5 separate regions of the Homo sapiens genome follow, and regions 2, 3, 4 and 5 are each linked to region 1. The links are contacts of gene promoters, found by promoter capture Hi-C in blood cells and fetal thymus (Javierre and others, 2016). All regions are on one chromosome and are shown on one strand. The core of a region is centred on a gene start or on the middle of the fragment in contact, and the rest is flanking DNA. Distances in the headings are between cores, read along the strand shown. Region 1 holds the start of EPN3 (epsin 3). Region 2 has its middle 88 kb from the start of TOB1-AS1. Region 3 has its middle 66 kb from the start of TOB1-AS1. Region 4 overlaps COL1A1 (collagen type I alpha 1 chain). Region 5 has its middle 21 kb from the start of MIR8059.

What was found. The method cuts DNA at HindIII sites, captures the fragments that hold promoters and counts their contacts. A CHiCAGO score of 5 or more calls a contact.
Region 2: a contact is called between a fragment that was not itself captured here and the fragment with the promoter of EPN3 in region 1, in 2 of 17 cell types (M2 macrophages and total B cells). The highest score is 5.6, in M2 macrophages.
Region 3: a contact is called between a fragment that was not itself captured here and the fragment with the promoter of EPN3 in region 1, in 1 of 17 cell types (endothelial precursors). The highest score is 6.5, in endothelial precursors.
Region 4: a contact is called between a fragment that was not itself captured here and the fragment with the promoter of EPN3 in region 1, in 1 of 17 cell types (megakaryocytes). The highest score is 5.1, in megakaryocytes.
Region 5: a contact is called between a fragment that was not itself captured here and the fragment with the promoter of EPN3 in region 1, in 1 of 17 cell types (M1 macrophages). The highest score is 5.1, in M1 macrophages.

What each region holds. Positions count from the first base shown.
Region 1 is chr17:50,531,394-50,534,100 of GRCh38, reverse strand. EPN3 (epsin 3) reads right to left here and starts at 1,366. Exons shown (of 10, transcript NM_017957.3): 1 at 1,116-1,366. It overlaps MYCBPAP (MYCBP associated protein), which reads right to left. Exons shown (of 19, transcript NM_032133.6): 19 at 2,600-2,707. The coding sequence ends at 2,673. RefSeq lists an enhancer at 1-500. The HindIII fragment of the contact is 5,271 bases long and covers 1,113-2,707 here.
Region 2 is chr17:50,953,053-50,955,759 of GRCh38, reverse strand. No RefSeq gene overlaps it. Among named protein-coding and RNA genes, the nearest start is that of TOB1-AS1, 88 kb to the right of the region's middle. RefSeq lists enhancers at 506-1,186, 1,187-1,867, 679-1,878. The HindIII fragment of the contact is 9,104 bases long and covers 1-2,707 here.
Region 3 is chr17:50,931,825-50,934,531 of GRCh38, reverse strand. No RefSeq gene overlaps it. Among named protein-coding and RNA genes, the nearest start is that of TOB1-AS1, 66 kb to the right of the region's middle. RefSeq lists a silencer at 2,678-2,707. The HindIII fragment of the contact is 5,593 bases long and covers 1-2,707 here.
Region 4 is chr17:50,186,832-50,189,331 of GRCh38, reverse strand. It overlaps COL1A1 (collagen type I alpha 1 chain), which reads left to right. Exons shown (of 51, transcript NM_000088.4): 40 at 57-164; 41 at 322-429; 42 at 537-590; 43 at 695-802; 44 at 1,183-1,236; 45 at 1,349-1,456; 46 at 1,795-1,848; 47 at 2,210-2,317; 48 at 2,410-2,500. Among named protein-coding and RNA genes, the nearest start is that of COL1A1, 14 kb to the left of the region's middle. RefSeq lists enhancers at 1-70, 71-626. The HindIII fragment of the contact is 5,715 bases long and covers 1-2,500 here.
Region 5 is chr17:50,787,850-50,790,556 of GRCh38, reverse strand. No RefSeq gene overlaps it. Among named protein-coding and RNA genes, the nearest start is that of MIR8059, 21 kb to the right of the region's middle. The HindIII fragment of the contact is 2,464 bases long and covers 80-2,543 here.

The DNA.
Region 1 (2,707 bases), core at 117-2,616:
GCCTGCCCAAGCGCAGAGAAGGGAGGAGGAAAGGAAGGAACGCGGGAACGCGGGAGGGAGCAGCTGGGAGCGCTGCCAGCAGTGTTACAAGCAAAGGGTTTTATCGAACACGATATGCCCAGAAATAAAAGGGAGTGTAACAGAAACCCAGCGGCCGATAAGGCGGTGGCGGTAGCAGCAGCAGCCCTGGGCAGCTGGGTATGGAATTACTGCAGTGACCTTGAGCCAGACCCTGTCAGGTGGAGGGAAGGGCACAGAGAGGGCAGGGCCTGAGAATTCAGAGATGACGAGAGGGCAGAGGAGGGAGGAAGCTGAGGGGATGGGAGCAGGGCCAGCAGGCGGTGGGATGGGCCACGGGGCACGGAGTATCAGCTCTCTCCTGCATACAGGGTCCCAAGGAGAACTGCGCAGTAGGGAGGGGCTGCTCTTCTCAGGGCCTGCAGGATGGGGGGATCTGGAGAGTTTCCCAAAAGTCAGGACCGAAAAATGCAGATCGCTCATCCCCAGCAAGGGTTTCGGAGAGATGGAGAGAACCCAGATCTGTCCAGTCACACGTGCATGAGTTTGCGTAAAGTCTGTGCACCCACCAGCCCAGCCCACACCCTCTTCCCGTCCTCTGCTAAGGTGGGCTCCAGCCCCTGCCTCCAAGTCAGATCCAGCCTGAGCAGTGGGGAATGACAGTGCCCTTCTTGATGCTGTAAGGGACAGGGGGTGAGCTTGAACTCTAAGCTTCTGGCCACTGTAATAGCTGCATCCCGGGAGCACAGAAGATGGGGGAGGGGGGACTGCCCTGAGGCTAGAGGTGTGCATGAGGGGCTGAAGAAGAGGAAACAGCAGAGATGTGCAGAAGGAGTCTGTGGGGAATGCCACCAAAGATGCTAAGATGCCACCAAAGATGCTAAGTCCCAGGATGGTTGGGGAGGGGGCCCTGAGTCCCTTTTTGGGGGCGGCAGGGAGGGAGGGGTGGCAGGAAAGAAGCCTTTAGGTCCTCTACAGCTCAGCCTTCTCCCTCGCACCTGGAAAAGAGACTAAGCCCCAGAACCACTGTTTGCTCCCCACCAACCCCCGCCTTCCATGCCGCCACTGCCAGGGAGGGGGCCAGGGAGGAAGCTTACCTCCAGTGCGGGCTCCCTCGGCCCCAGCCCCAGCCCGAGTAGCCTCTGCGGTGACCCTCCGACCTGTGCAGCAGCGGGACGGCACAGCCTCGGGAGCGTCTCCAGAGCCATCCACCATGGACCCTCGTCCCAGAGACCCACCTGCTCCCAGGAGGTGCAGACCCCTCAGAGGGGCAGCGGCAGGGTCCCTGGAATGGGTAGCAGCTCTTCCCGCGTGCGTTTGCCTCCTAGCCAGCGCCAGGCAGCACTCCGAGGAAAGTTGCTCAGCTGGCCCGGCAGGTCTGCCTCAGCAGTAACAGGACACAGGAGGAAGTGCAGGGCAGGTTAACCCCTTCCTGCTGGCCAGGCAAGTGGTGCATTGAGAGGTGGGGGGCCTGCCTGTTGGCCGCCCCCAGGAAGTGCACATCTGGAGCCAGTGCTGGCGACCTGATCCCCTCTGCTTTGAGTTAACCCTTCCCCTGCCTCTTCAACAGGAAAGGAGGGGGGCTCCAACACCCCCACCACACCCCTCCCCTTCCTCCTCTGGGCCGGGAGGACATTAAAGGAGAGGGCAGGGACATTCCCTGGGGCTGGCTCTTTGGTGGAGCCCCCGTCTTCTCGTCTTCTTGGGGAGGAGAGCATCAGGACTCCAGCACAGCCCCCTCCCTGCCTTTCCCACACGGAGTCAGATCCTTCTGTCCATCCTCCCCCTCCTGCATCTCAGCTGGAGGATGCCTGAGGCCCACTTAAGGATGCCCACCCACCCAAAAACCAAAGTTGTTCTTCAAACTCTGGGAGCCTGGAGTGCTCTTCACACAGGGAGCCCAGCCCCAAATGGTTATGACTGACAGAAGACAATGAGGGGCCTGAGTTTGAGCTGACAATACCTTTTTTTCTGAGAGCCATTTCTAGCCTGTTTCATGTTCCCCTGAGCAAGGGAGGTAGCATGAAGATCAGCAGCTGTTTTTAAGGCAGAAAGATGGCTCAAGGCCAGATAGTTTGAGATGAGGAGGGGGATAAGGCAGACTAGACCCCGAAATAACAAGGTGATGTGGCCTCTAGAGCTGAAGAGGTGTGGTGAGCATGATCTTCAGGGACTGAATTGGGGCCCTGGGACCCAGCTGAAGAGGGGAGATGGCAGGGAGCCAGGTCCCATGGGTCTAGTTCTACTCCTCATCTCACACTTTGTCATACTTGGTGATGACACTTCGGGAAGACCTGGCTCCAGGAAGCACGACCCTGAAAGTGTGGGCCAAGGAAGCCAGAGGCAGGGACTACCAGAGGTGACACACTGTCCTGTCACCTGACTCCTTGTCTTGCTACCAATCTGCTCCTCTGCTTGGCATCCCACACATCACTTCCCCAGCTATGTCTGTCTGTCCTCCTGCAGGAGGGCTCTGGCAGCTGGCAGGAGGGGATCTGAGGGCAGGTGGAACATGGGAGGACCTGGATCAGGAGCTGACCTAGCCAAGATCCATCATGCAAGACACAGAGGCACACGGAAGTAGTAGAAACTTGAAGGTTCTTTATTGATTTATTTATTAACCCGTTTTCCAGAAGGTTGCTTGGGCCCGAGAGTCACCTGCAGAGGCGCAAAGCCTCCTCGACATTCT
Region 2 (2,707 bases), core at 148-2,647, 420 kb before region 1:
CAGACCCCTGTCCCAGCTGCCCTGAGTAGCCAAGAGCTTTAGGCTGGTCATTTTCTCTCTGTCCTGTTTTCTGTAAAATGACAGTTGGGCTAGATGAGTTCTAGGATGCTTTTCTGCCCCATGATTCTAAACATTAGGACAGAAGAGTGGGTACCATGTTTGTTTCCCTCACTCCCATGCCCCAGTGTTAGCTGCAAGATGCTGTTGGATCCTCTTGATGGAGACGGGGGAAGAGCATGATCCCAGCCAACTGACACATGGCACAGCAAGGGGGCAGGAGGGTCAAGGCTGCCCTGGCTGGGATGGGGAGCTGGGAGTGCACAGAGTAAAGGGCCCTTGCCGCCTCGGCCTCACTGTCCGGACACCCACATGAGCCAGAGCCAGCATGGACTACACAGCTTCCATGGGCACAGGGGAGTCGGCATAGGCCTGGAGGAAGGGGCGCCTAATAGTAGTGTTCACCATTCTCAAGCCTGGGGAGTTTGATGCCCAGGTTCAGGGCTGTTCCAGAATGCTTAGGTGGGTATGAATGCCCAAAACTGCAGCCGACAGGTCCCAGATGCAGCTTCTGTCTCTCGCCTCTGCTGGGGTCATGGGAGACAGCTCCCCCAGTCTTCTCCACCCTTGCCCAGCCTCCTGTGCAGAGCCACAGGCAGATCCTACCAGCTGGGAATGTCCAGTATGAAGCAGGTTGAGGAAGGGAAGGGCCTGGGGAAGAAATTCACTGGGGAAGAGGGAGGATGTCAGAAGATTTGTGGCATCAGGAAATGACAGGAAAGCCGGAGGGGAGTTGGAGTGGCTGGAGAGGTGAGAGTCCCTGGGCAGAGCCTCTGGTGAGCAGCCTTCGGGTCTGGGTCCGGGGCCCCTTTCCTTCAGGGCCCGGCCGGGCAACTTGCGGGGATGGGATAATGCCTTAGGGAGTCCAGGAGCCCCAGCCCAGACTGCCCCTCTTGGGGTGTGAAGCCCCTGCAAGGGCTGAGTGGCAGAAAGCAAGGGTGGCCGCAGCCACTGAGCATCCCTGGGAAGGGATGGGGCTGTATAGAAGGGGCACCTGGGGACAGGTGGGCAGTCACAGTGTCTCAGCCCGCTGGGACTCACAGCAGAGCTCATCTGTAGAAGAGAAGGTAGAGGTCAGATGTTACATGGGAGGAAATTTCCAATAAAGACAAAAGTGCTTCCGCGGAGAGGGGACCTGGAGATTGGGACTCTGCTCATACTCGCTTCGCTGCACGCGGTCACTGTGGTGTCCTTGCATCCCTCTTGCCCCTCCCTCAGCGCTCTGCCCTTCCCCAGTTCCTGCTGCTTCCTCTGCAGGAACAGCTGCATGTCTGGGCTTGTCAGGGAGTCAGCTGCGTCTCCAGACACAGACGCAGGAGGCCCAGCACCACCCCCAGCCTGATGCCGTCACTGAGGTTTGGAAGGTGGTGGTCTCCTCCCTGTTAAACTGAGACCCAGAGAGGGGGAGTGTGTTTTAATTCCCCAGACCCAACAAGTGAGTAGTGCCAGAAAGGGCCCTCGGGGTCCCATCTCTCCAGGCGGCCTCAGGTCAGTTCCCTCCCGCTGTGGTAGCCTCATCAGCTAATTCTGCCTCTGTTGGATCAGCCAGCAAGGCAATGCTCAAGGGGGCTGGGTGGCGACTCCAATTTGGGTGCACCAGCCAGTCCCAGGGGTGAAGGCAGTGACTTATTTGGGAATTATTTTTGTAGAGGAGACACTTGACTCCACGGCTGTTGAGGCTGAAGCTACCCAAGTGACCCCTGAGCTGAGTGGCAGGGAGGGCTGGCGGCTCCTGGACTCAGCTTCACACCACCTCCCAAGGTGTTCTCAGCCATGCCCCTACCTCTGCACAGGGCCACTCCTAAACAAATCCTCCTGCCTCCCTGGAGCTTGAAGGAGGTGCTTTGCCTCCCATCCTCTCCGCAGTCTCCTCTCCCCTCGGGGATTGGTCACGTGGAACCCTGTTGGAGCCTGAGGGGTGAGATGGTGAGTGCCCAGAGGGCAACGGTGGCTGGCTCCTTCCAGAGCCCACTTTTTCTTTCTTTCTTTCTTTCTTTCTTTTTTTTTTTTTGTTTCTTGGGACAGGGTCTCCCCTCTGTCGCCCAGGCTGGAGTGCAGTGACACAATCATAGTTCACTGCAGCCTCAACCTCCCAGGCTGGAGCTATCCACCTACATCAGCCCTCCGGGCAGCTGGGACTACAGGCACACACCACCACACCCAGCTAATTTTTTTTTTATTTTTTGCAGAATCAGTGTTTCGCCATGTTGCCCAGGCTGGTCTCGAACTCCTGAGCTCAAGTGATCCTCCTATCTCAGATTCCCAAAGTGCTGGGATTACAGGTGTGAGCCACCATGCCTGGGTTTTCCTTGTTGATAAATGAGCATGGGATTGTTCTAGAGAAACTGTGCCATGAGCTGGGTGGGACAGGAGCATCAAGATCATTTCAGAAAGTTCTCTCGTGAAAGCCAAAATATGTGCCTACTCCACCTCTGCCCGCTAGCTACCATGTCCCAGGCCAAAAAGTCCTTAGGAGAGGAGAATCCCATGCAACTGTGGAGTGTGTGCTGGGCCCAGTCCTGGGTTCCTCATCCATTGCCTGCCTTAATCCCCAAGGCGGCTGTGGGGCACAGATTTCCCCATTTGACAGGACACCTCAACCAGCGGTTCTCAACCTCACTAGTACTGACATGTGAGGCTGGGTGCTTCT
Region 3 (2,707 bases), core at 95-2,594, 400 kb before region 1:
GAGCACATGCTTGTATGTGAGCTTTTTGTATGTGTACCTTTGGGTATGTGCCTAGGTAGGTGCACATATGTGCATGAGCCCAGGTGTCAAACTCCGAGAAAAGAGATGAATGTTAGTCCCACACCTGCTCTGTTGATGGGCTTTCCCCACCCCCTACCCACCTGCATTCTATTAGCAGGACTGGTCTTTAAACAAATCTCTCACAGGTGAGGTGGCCTCCACTTTTCTCACACCTTCTTATACAGTCATGCACCTCATAACGTTTCAGTCAACTACAGACTGCAGCTAAAGTGGTGGGCCCATACGATTATTATTATTATTATTATTTTTGAAACAGAGTCTTGCTTGTGTCGCCCAGGCTGGAGTGCCCTGGCACAACCTCGGCTCACTGCAACCTCTGCCTCCTGGGTTCAAGCTATTCTCCTGCCTCAGCCTCCTGAGTAGCTGGGATTACAGGCACCCGCAACCATACCCAGCTAATTTTTTGTATTTTTAGTAGAGACAGGGTTTCACCATGTTATTCAGGCTGGTCTTGAACTCCTGACCTCAAGTGATCCACCTGCCTCAGCCTCCCAAAGTGCTGGGAGTATAGGCATGAGCCACTGTGCCCAGCCCCACAAGATTATAATACTGTATTTTAACTCTACCTTTTCTATGTATAGATATGTTTAGATACACAAATACTTACTATTGTGCCACAATTGCCTACAGTATTCAGTACAGTAACAAGCTCTCTGAGTGTGTAGCCTGGGAGCAGTAGCCTGGGTGTGTGGTAGTCCATACTACCATCTGGGTTTGTGTAAGTGCACTCTATGATGTTCATACAATGACGAAATTGCCTGAGGACACATTTCTCAGGACATATCCCCCTTGTTGAGTGATGCAGGACAGTGCTTACTCATCCTCCTCTTTTTTTTTTTTCCAAGATAGAGTCTTGCTGTGTCACCCAGGCTGGAGTGCAGTTGTGCAATCTTGGCTCACTGCAACCTCCACCTCCCGGATTCAAGCGATTCTCCTGCCTCAGCCTCCTGAGTAGCTGGGATTACAGGCACCCACCACCACGTCCAGCTAATTTTTGTATTTTTAGTAGAGATGGGATTTCACCATGTTGGCCATGCTGGTCTCGAACTTCTGACCTCGTGATCCACCCGCCTCGGCTTCCCAAAGTGCTGGGATTACAGGTGTGAGCCACTGCACCAGGCCTCATCCTCCTCTTAAGTTTTCCCAAACTCTGTCTGCGATGGTCCTGCACCCTCAGTGCTTGTTTCCCACCTTCATTGGCTCAGTGTTTTTGGAGCCCTCTAGCCCTGTGAGATGCTCTGGAAGGAAAGGGCTCCTGAGTCCGTGGGTTTCTAGTAAAAGTTGCACTCATTACACCTTCATGGAGACTCATCATGTACCCCAGCATAGGAAAGGTCCTGAGAAGTCCTAAAGTAAAGAAACCTGCTTAAGTTAGTTCATCACAGGGGTTCCTGCAATTCTTGGCTATTAGAACCTGATTTGAAGGTATAACGCCTTGTCAGAATCCGTGCTCCTCGGCGCGCACCCGGGGAAGTCTGTGGTGTGCTGTGGGAGATGGCTCCCTGTGTTCAAGCGGCCTCTTCTCTGCTTCTCCAGCAACTGTGCGGATATTTCCAAGTGTCTGGCTGATGAGGGCCACGCACATAGGCTGGGCCTATCTCAGGGATGGGGGGTACCTCGTGGCTTGAGAATCAATCCTGGCTCTCTGCATCTGGGGCCCACAGGGAGCCTGGCCTCGCCCAGAGAAGCCACGTCAAGGGGCACATCTCCAGAACTGGCTAAGGTGAGGCCTCACACCCAGCCCCGCAGCCTCGGAGCCAGCCAGGGTCCATTGGCTCCTCCTCGCACTGGTCCTGGCCTGGCTGTCAGGGCAGAGGATGCCACCAGTCTCAAGACCCAGAGTGGCCGCAGGAACAAGGGAGACTCTGCCATTTGAGCCAATGCTCCAGGGACTAGAAGCCTGGGTTCTGACTCCAGGGCCCTTGCTCTGCCCTCAGCGTCTGCCCTCCCAGGCCCAGTACCCATGCCTCCCTCAGCCCTAAGACTTCCAGTGGCCTCCTGATGGTCAGAGGCCCTCAGAACACTGTGGTCGGGCATCCTGAAGCCCCAGCCTGGGGTCGGGGATCGGGGGCAGAAGCCTTGCAGCCAGTCCCACTCCTGATCTGACCACTGCTTCCAGAGAATTACAGGGTCAGGAAGGCCCCTGCTATCCCGTCCCTCATACCATTAAAATCAGATACTTAAAATTATGCAAGAAATACATGAACAGCGTCTCTTCAGATGATTCAGACAATACAGAAGTGGGGTAAAAACACTGAAGTCTGTTTTGCTTCTCACCAGCCCATGGATTTTTAAAAACTCAAGTTGAACCATATTCTGTATTTTTCTATTTTTCAATGACTTTATTTCTTAAAGAAATTTAACAATCTGATACATGTTAATACATCTTGATCTACCTTGTTTTTTTTTTAAAACTCATCTACACAATATTCCAGGGTGTTGATGTCTCCCTTATTTCTCTCTCTTCTCTCTCTCTCTCTCTCTCTCTCTCTCTCTCTCTCTGTCTCTCTCTCATCTTCCTTTTGCCACCCAGGCTGGAATGTAGTGGTGTGATCACAGCTCACTACAGCCTGGATTCAGCACACAGGAATCAGAGTCAGAATCAGAAAAAAAACAAGGAGGAAGC
Region 4 (2,500 bases), core at 1-2,500, 340 kb after region 1:
TGGGGAGGGGTCCCTGTGCTGCTCTCTGGCACCTCACCCCTGTTTGCCTCCCAAAGGGTGCTCCTGGTACTCCCGGGCCTCAAGGTATTGCTGGACAGCGTGGTGTGGTCGGCCTGCCTGGTCAGAGAGGAGAGAGAGGCTTCCCTGGTCTTCCTGGCCCCTCTGTAAGTGCCCCCCTCACCTTGGGGGGCCCTGAGAAAAACCATCACAGGACTTGGAGTGGGGCGGAGCCAAGGAGAACAGATTTGGTAGAGATGACTCCAGCGGACTCAAGGGTCCTCCCAGACCCTATCTCTGGCCTGACTCTTTCTTCTCCCTTAGGGTGAACCTGGCAAACAAGGTCCCTCTGGAGCAAGTGGTGAACGTGGTCCCCCTGGTCCCATGGGCCCCCCTGGATTGGCTGGACCCCCTGGTGAATCTGGACGTGAGGTGAGCAGTCCCCAGCCCCCATGCCAGTACCCTCAGCATGGCCATTGTGGCCTTGCCTAAGCCCTCTTCCCCGGCTGACTCTCACTTCTCTCTCTCTCTCTCTGCAGGGGGCTCCTGGTGCCGAAGGTTCCCCTGGACGAGACGGTTCTCCTGGCGCCAAGGTAAGATGGCAACACTCCATGACCACAGCCTTGTCTGCTGCTTCCCTGCCCCATCCTGGCCCTTCACCCGGGGCTGACCCATATTCCCCTGCTCTCCCCGCCAGGGTGACCGTGGTGAGACCGGCCCCGCTGGACCCCCTGGTGCTCCTGGTGCTCCTGGTGCCCCTGGCCCCGTTGGCCCTGCTGGCAAGAGTGGTGATCGTGGTGAGACTGTAAGTAGCTGGGCTCCAGTTCCCTGTACCTGGTCAGGCCAGGGACTCTTCAGGCCTCCTTAGAGGCCTGGGGATGGGTGTCGGACTTCACCCAGGCAGGGGGAGGAAAGGAGATCCTGCAAGATGTCAGGGCCTTAATCCAAAAAACTGAGTTAAAGCTCAGCCCCAAGTCCCCTCTCCCAGACAGGACCGCCTCTCCCATGAGTTGGCCCCAGCTCCCGTGAAGATTGCAGTGGGGAGGTTTCCCTGGGAGTTGGGAGAGATGGCCACAGTGGGAAGCAGCTGAGGAGAGAGAGATCCAGCAGAGGGGAGGCCTCATCCTGCAGCCCCAGCCTCAGCCTTCCCTGGCCAAGAGCTCATGCTTTCCTTGCTCTCCCCAGGGTCCTGCTGGTCCCGCCGGTCCTGTCGGCCCTGTTGGCGCCCGTGGCCCCGCCGTAAGTACCCTGCTGTGTCCCCCATGCCTTTAGAACTCTACAGATGCAGACAGTGCCCCACTCGATGCCAATGGAACTTCCGCCTGACAGTTTGTCCCTTTCTCTCTTCTAGGGACCCCAAGGCCCCCGTGGTGACAAGGGTGAGACAGGCGAACAGGGCGACAGAGGCATAAAGGGTCACCGTGGCTTCTCTGGCCTCCAGGGTCCCCCTGGCCCTCCTGTAAGTATGCTCAGCCCCTCCCCAGTCCCCATGCTGTGCTGTGGGATAGGAGGGGGAGCTTCGCCTCAGTTTCCCCCTCTGGATAGTCATTCTTTCCCCTCCCTAGTGGGGACTGGGGTCTGAAGATTTGTGGGCATGTCCAAGTAGCTTCTGAGAGGGTGAGGGGTACACAGAGAGGGATTATGGGAGAGGTCTCTGCCTATGGACACCCTCGGGCTAGATTTCCAGAATAATGAAGGGGCATGGGTTGCCCACACTGCCCTTGTCTCTCCAGCCAGGCCCTCAGGCTACATTTGACGCTCACTGGGCCTGAACTGCCTTTTTTATCTGTCCTTCAGGGCTCTCCTGGTGAACAAGGTCCCTCTGGAGCCTCTGGTCCTGCTGGTCCCCGAGTAAGTCATGCCTTCTCTCTCCTCTTCCTGAGCCCCAAGCCCAGGCTCACCTCGGGGACCCTTGCCAGGGACCCAGGCACCCTTTGCCTCTCTGGAGAAGGGTTCAGGGACAGGGAGTGGGCAAAGAGAGGAAGAATCCTGAACAAACAATCTGATCTAGCTTTGGCCTCTCTGCTCCCCAATCCGTCCTCCCCTGGCTCAGCGGCTGGGAGGAGCTATGGCATGTCCTATGGAAAGAGGCTGAGGCTGGCTCTATGAGCCGTGGGGCCAGAGCCAGCAGGGAGGGTGGTGGGCCTCTCCTCCAGAGCTGGGGTTGTTCGGGCTTCTGGCAGCCTTTCTCAAACCATTTCCCCCACTCCAGGGTCCCCCTGGCTCTGCTGGTGCTCCTGGCAAAGATGGACTCAACGGTCTCCCTGGCCCCATTGGGCCCCCTGGTCCTCGCGGTCGCACTGGTGATGCTGGTCCTGTTGTATGTAGCCCCTCATCCCCTCTGCTCATGGCCCTCCAGCCCCCAAAGCACTTGGATGCCGGTAATCCCCACTCTCTTCCCTCTCTGTGCAGGGTCCCCCCGGCCCTCCTGGACCTCCTGGTCCCCCTGGTCCTCCCAGCGCTGGTTTCGACTTCAGCTTCCTGCCCCAGCCACCTCAAGAGA
Region 5 (2,707 bases), core at 62-2,561, 260 kb before region 1:
GTAGCCTGCCACAGCCTCAGCGCAGGTTCTAGTATTCGTCTTGTTCCTTGTCTCAATAACCAGAACCATCCCTGAAGCTTGCTCACAATTGTCTGAGTTCAGCTTCTTCAAAATCTCTTTTAACTAAATTGCTCCCCCATATTAACTCTTGCTGTCCCAAAGGACACGAACACATCACCTGAGGTCACCCATCATGCAGTGGCAGAGCTCAGATGGGAACTTTGGCTTATGAGCCTTCACAGGCCTCACTCTCCCATTCTTTGCAGGATAAAGCACCAGGAAGCACAAAGAAAATTCTTTGCATAGCAGAAACTCTCAAATGGTAGAAAGTGAGCAACCCCATTTCCACACACTCAGAGAAGAATTTTGCAGTGGGCTGAGCAGTTTTGCTCTGTGGGAACACAGCATATACCTCTCATGGGTTCTCTGTTTCCTTTTTTTTTTTTTTTGAGACAGAGTCTTACTCTGTCACCCAGGCTGGAGTACAGTTGCATAGTCTCAGCTCACTGCAACCTCTGCCTCCTGGGTTCGAGCGATTCTCCTGCCTCAGCCTCCTGAGTAGCTGGGACTACAGGCGTTCACCACTACTCCCGGCTCATTTTTGTATTTTCAGTAGAGATGGGGTTTCACAGTGCTGGCCAGGCTGGTCTTGAACTCCTGACCTCAGGTGATCCGCCTGCCTTGGCCTCCCAAAGTGCTGGGATTATAGGTGTGAGCCACCACACCCGCTGTTTCCTTTTTTTGAGACAGGGCTCCACTCTGTCTCGCAGGCTAAAGTGCAGTGGTACAATCATAGTTCACTGCAGCCTCAAACTCCCAGGCTCAAGTGATCTCCTGCCTCACCCTCCCGAGTAGTTGGGACTGCAGGCATATGCGCCACCACGCCTGGCGAATTTTTTTTTTTTTAATAGGGTCTTTTTCTGTTGTCCAGGGTGGAGTGCAATGGCATGATCTCAGCTCACTGCAACCTCTGCCTCCTGGGTTCAAGTGATTCTCCTGCCTCGGCCTCCCAAGTAGCTGGGATTACAGGCACGCACCAACACGCCTGGCTAATTTTTGTATTTTTGGTAGAGATGGGGTTTCACCACGTTGGCCAGGCTGGTCTGGAGTTTCTGACCTCAGGTGCTCCACCTGCCTTGGCCTCTCAAAGTGCTGGGATTATAGGCATGAGCCACAGCACCCTGCGAAGAGATTCTTCCTCTAGGACAAAGCCCCCCCCTCCAAAGACCCCTGAGGGTCACTGCAGGGCCACTCCTCTTCCCTCCCCTTCCTAATGGTATAGCAGCCATTCTGTGGGACAAAAAGAAGACAAACTGAGGTAGGTCCTCCTGGGAGTCTGGGACTGGTCCTTGGGGCTGCCTGGGTGACCCCCTACCCAATTCTGTTTCCCTGGCACTCCCTACCACCCTCTACTGCTCCTTGTGACACCGTCCTTCTGTAAGATCATCTTCTCTTTTACACGTTTGCTTATTCATTACCTGTCTCTTCTACCTGGAGGTAAGGAACCAAATTAGACTGGCAACACCGCCTCTTGTTCTCCTCTATTTCCAGCATCCAGAAAAGTGTCTGGCTTATCCTTGGTGCTCCATAAATTTTTACTGAATGAATGAATAAATGAATTCATGAATGAACAGGATGGCTAGTGAGACTCTGACGGCCTCCTGCTTCCCCCACACTGTGGAAGGTGGGGCTCCCCAAGCCTGCACTCCTACCTGAGATGCCAGTCTCTTTGTCTACTTTAGACACCAGGTTCCAAAGACCCTGTGCTCTCAGATACCTTTTATGTCTAAAGCAGAGGCCCTACCCCAGCACTCCCCATCTCAGTAGACAGTAACTCCATTTACCCACTTGTTCAAATTCAAAATGTCAGTCATCCTTGGCCGGGCGCGGTGGCTCATGCCTATAATCTCAGCACCTTGGGAGGCCAAGGCGGGCGGATCACCTGAGGTCAGGAGTTTAAGACCAGCCTGGCCAACATGGTGAAACCCCCTCTCTACTAAAACACACAAAAATTAGCCAGGCGTGGTGGCGCGCACCTGTAATCCCAGTTACTTGTGAGGCTGAAGCAGGAGAACCACTTGAACCCAGGAGGAGGAGGAGGACGTAGTGAGCCAAGATTGCACCACTGCACTCCAGCCTGCGTGACAGAGTGAGACTCCATTTCAAAAAAAAAAATAGTGTCAGTCATTCTTGACTCCTACCTCCCTTTCCTCCAATGCACTGGCGAATCCTATTTGGGCCCCCTTCAATGTACATCCTGAATCTGACCACCATGGCGACCACGAACTCTCACCTTGACGATGGCAATACCCTCCTAAGGGGACTCCCCACTTCCCTTCTTCCTCTTCTCCAACCCAGGTTCTGTCTGCACATGGAGTGGCCTATTGGAAATATCATTCAGATTGCCTCACCTCCCTGCCTGCGACCCACTAACAGTCCTCTCTCTTCTTTGCTCACTCTGTTCCAGCCACTGAAACTATCCCCACAGGGTTAACAAGAATCACATGTCAGGTTCTGGACAGAAATAGAGTTATAATTAAGCTTTAATTTGGCTGCTTTCTGACCCACTTCCTTGTTGCTGAGATTCACATAGCACTAGATATTGACCACTTGCCTCCCCATTGTCCCTACACATAGGATTTCTTTTTCTTTTTTTTTTTTCTTTGAGATGCAGTTTCACTCTTGTTGCCCAGGCTGGAGTGCAGTG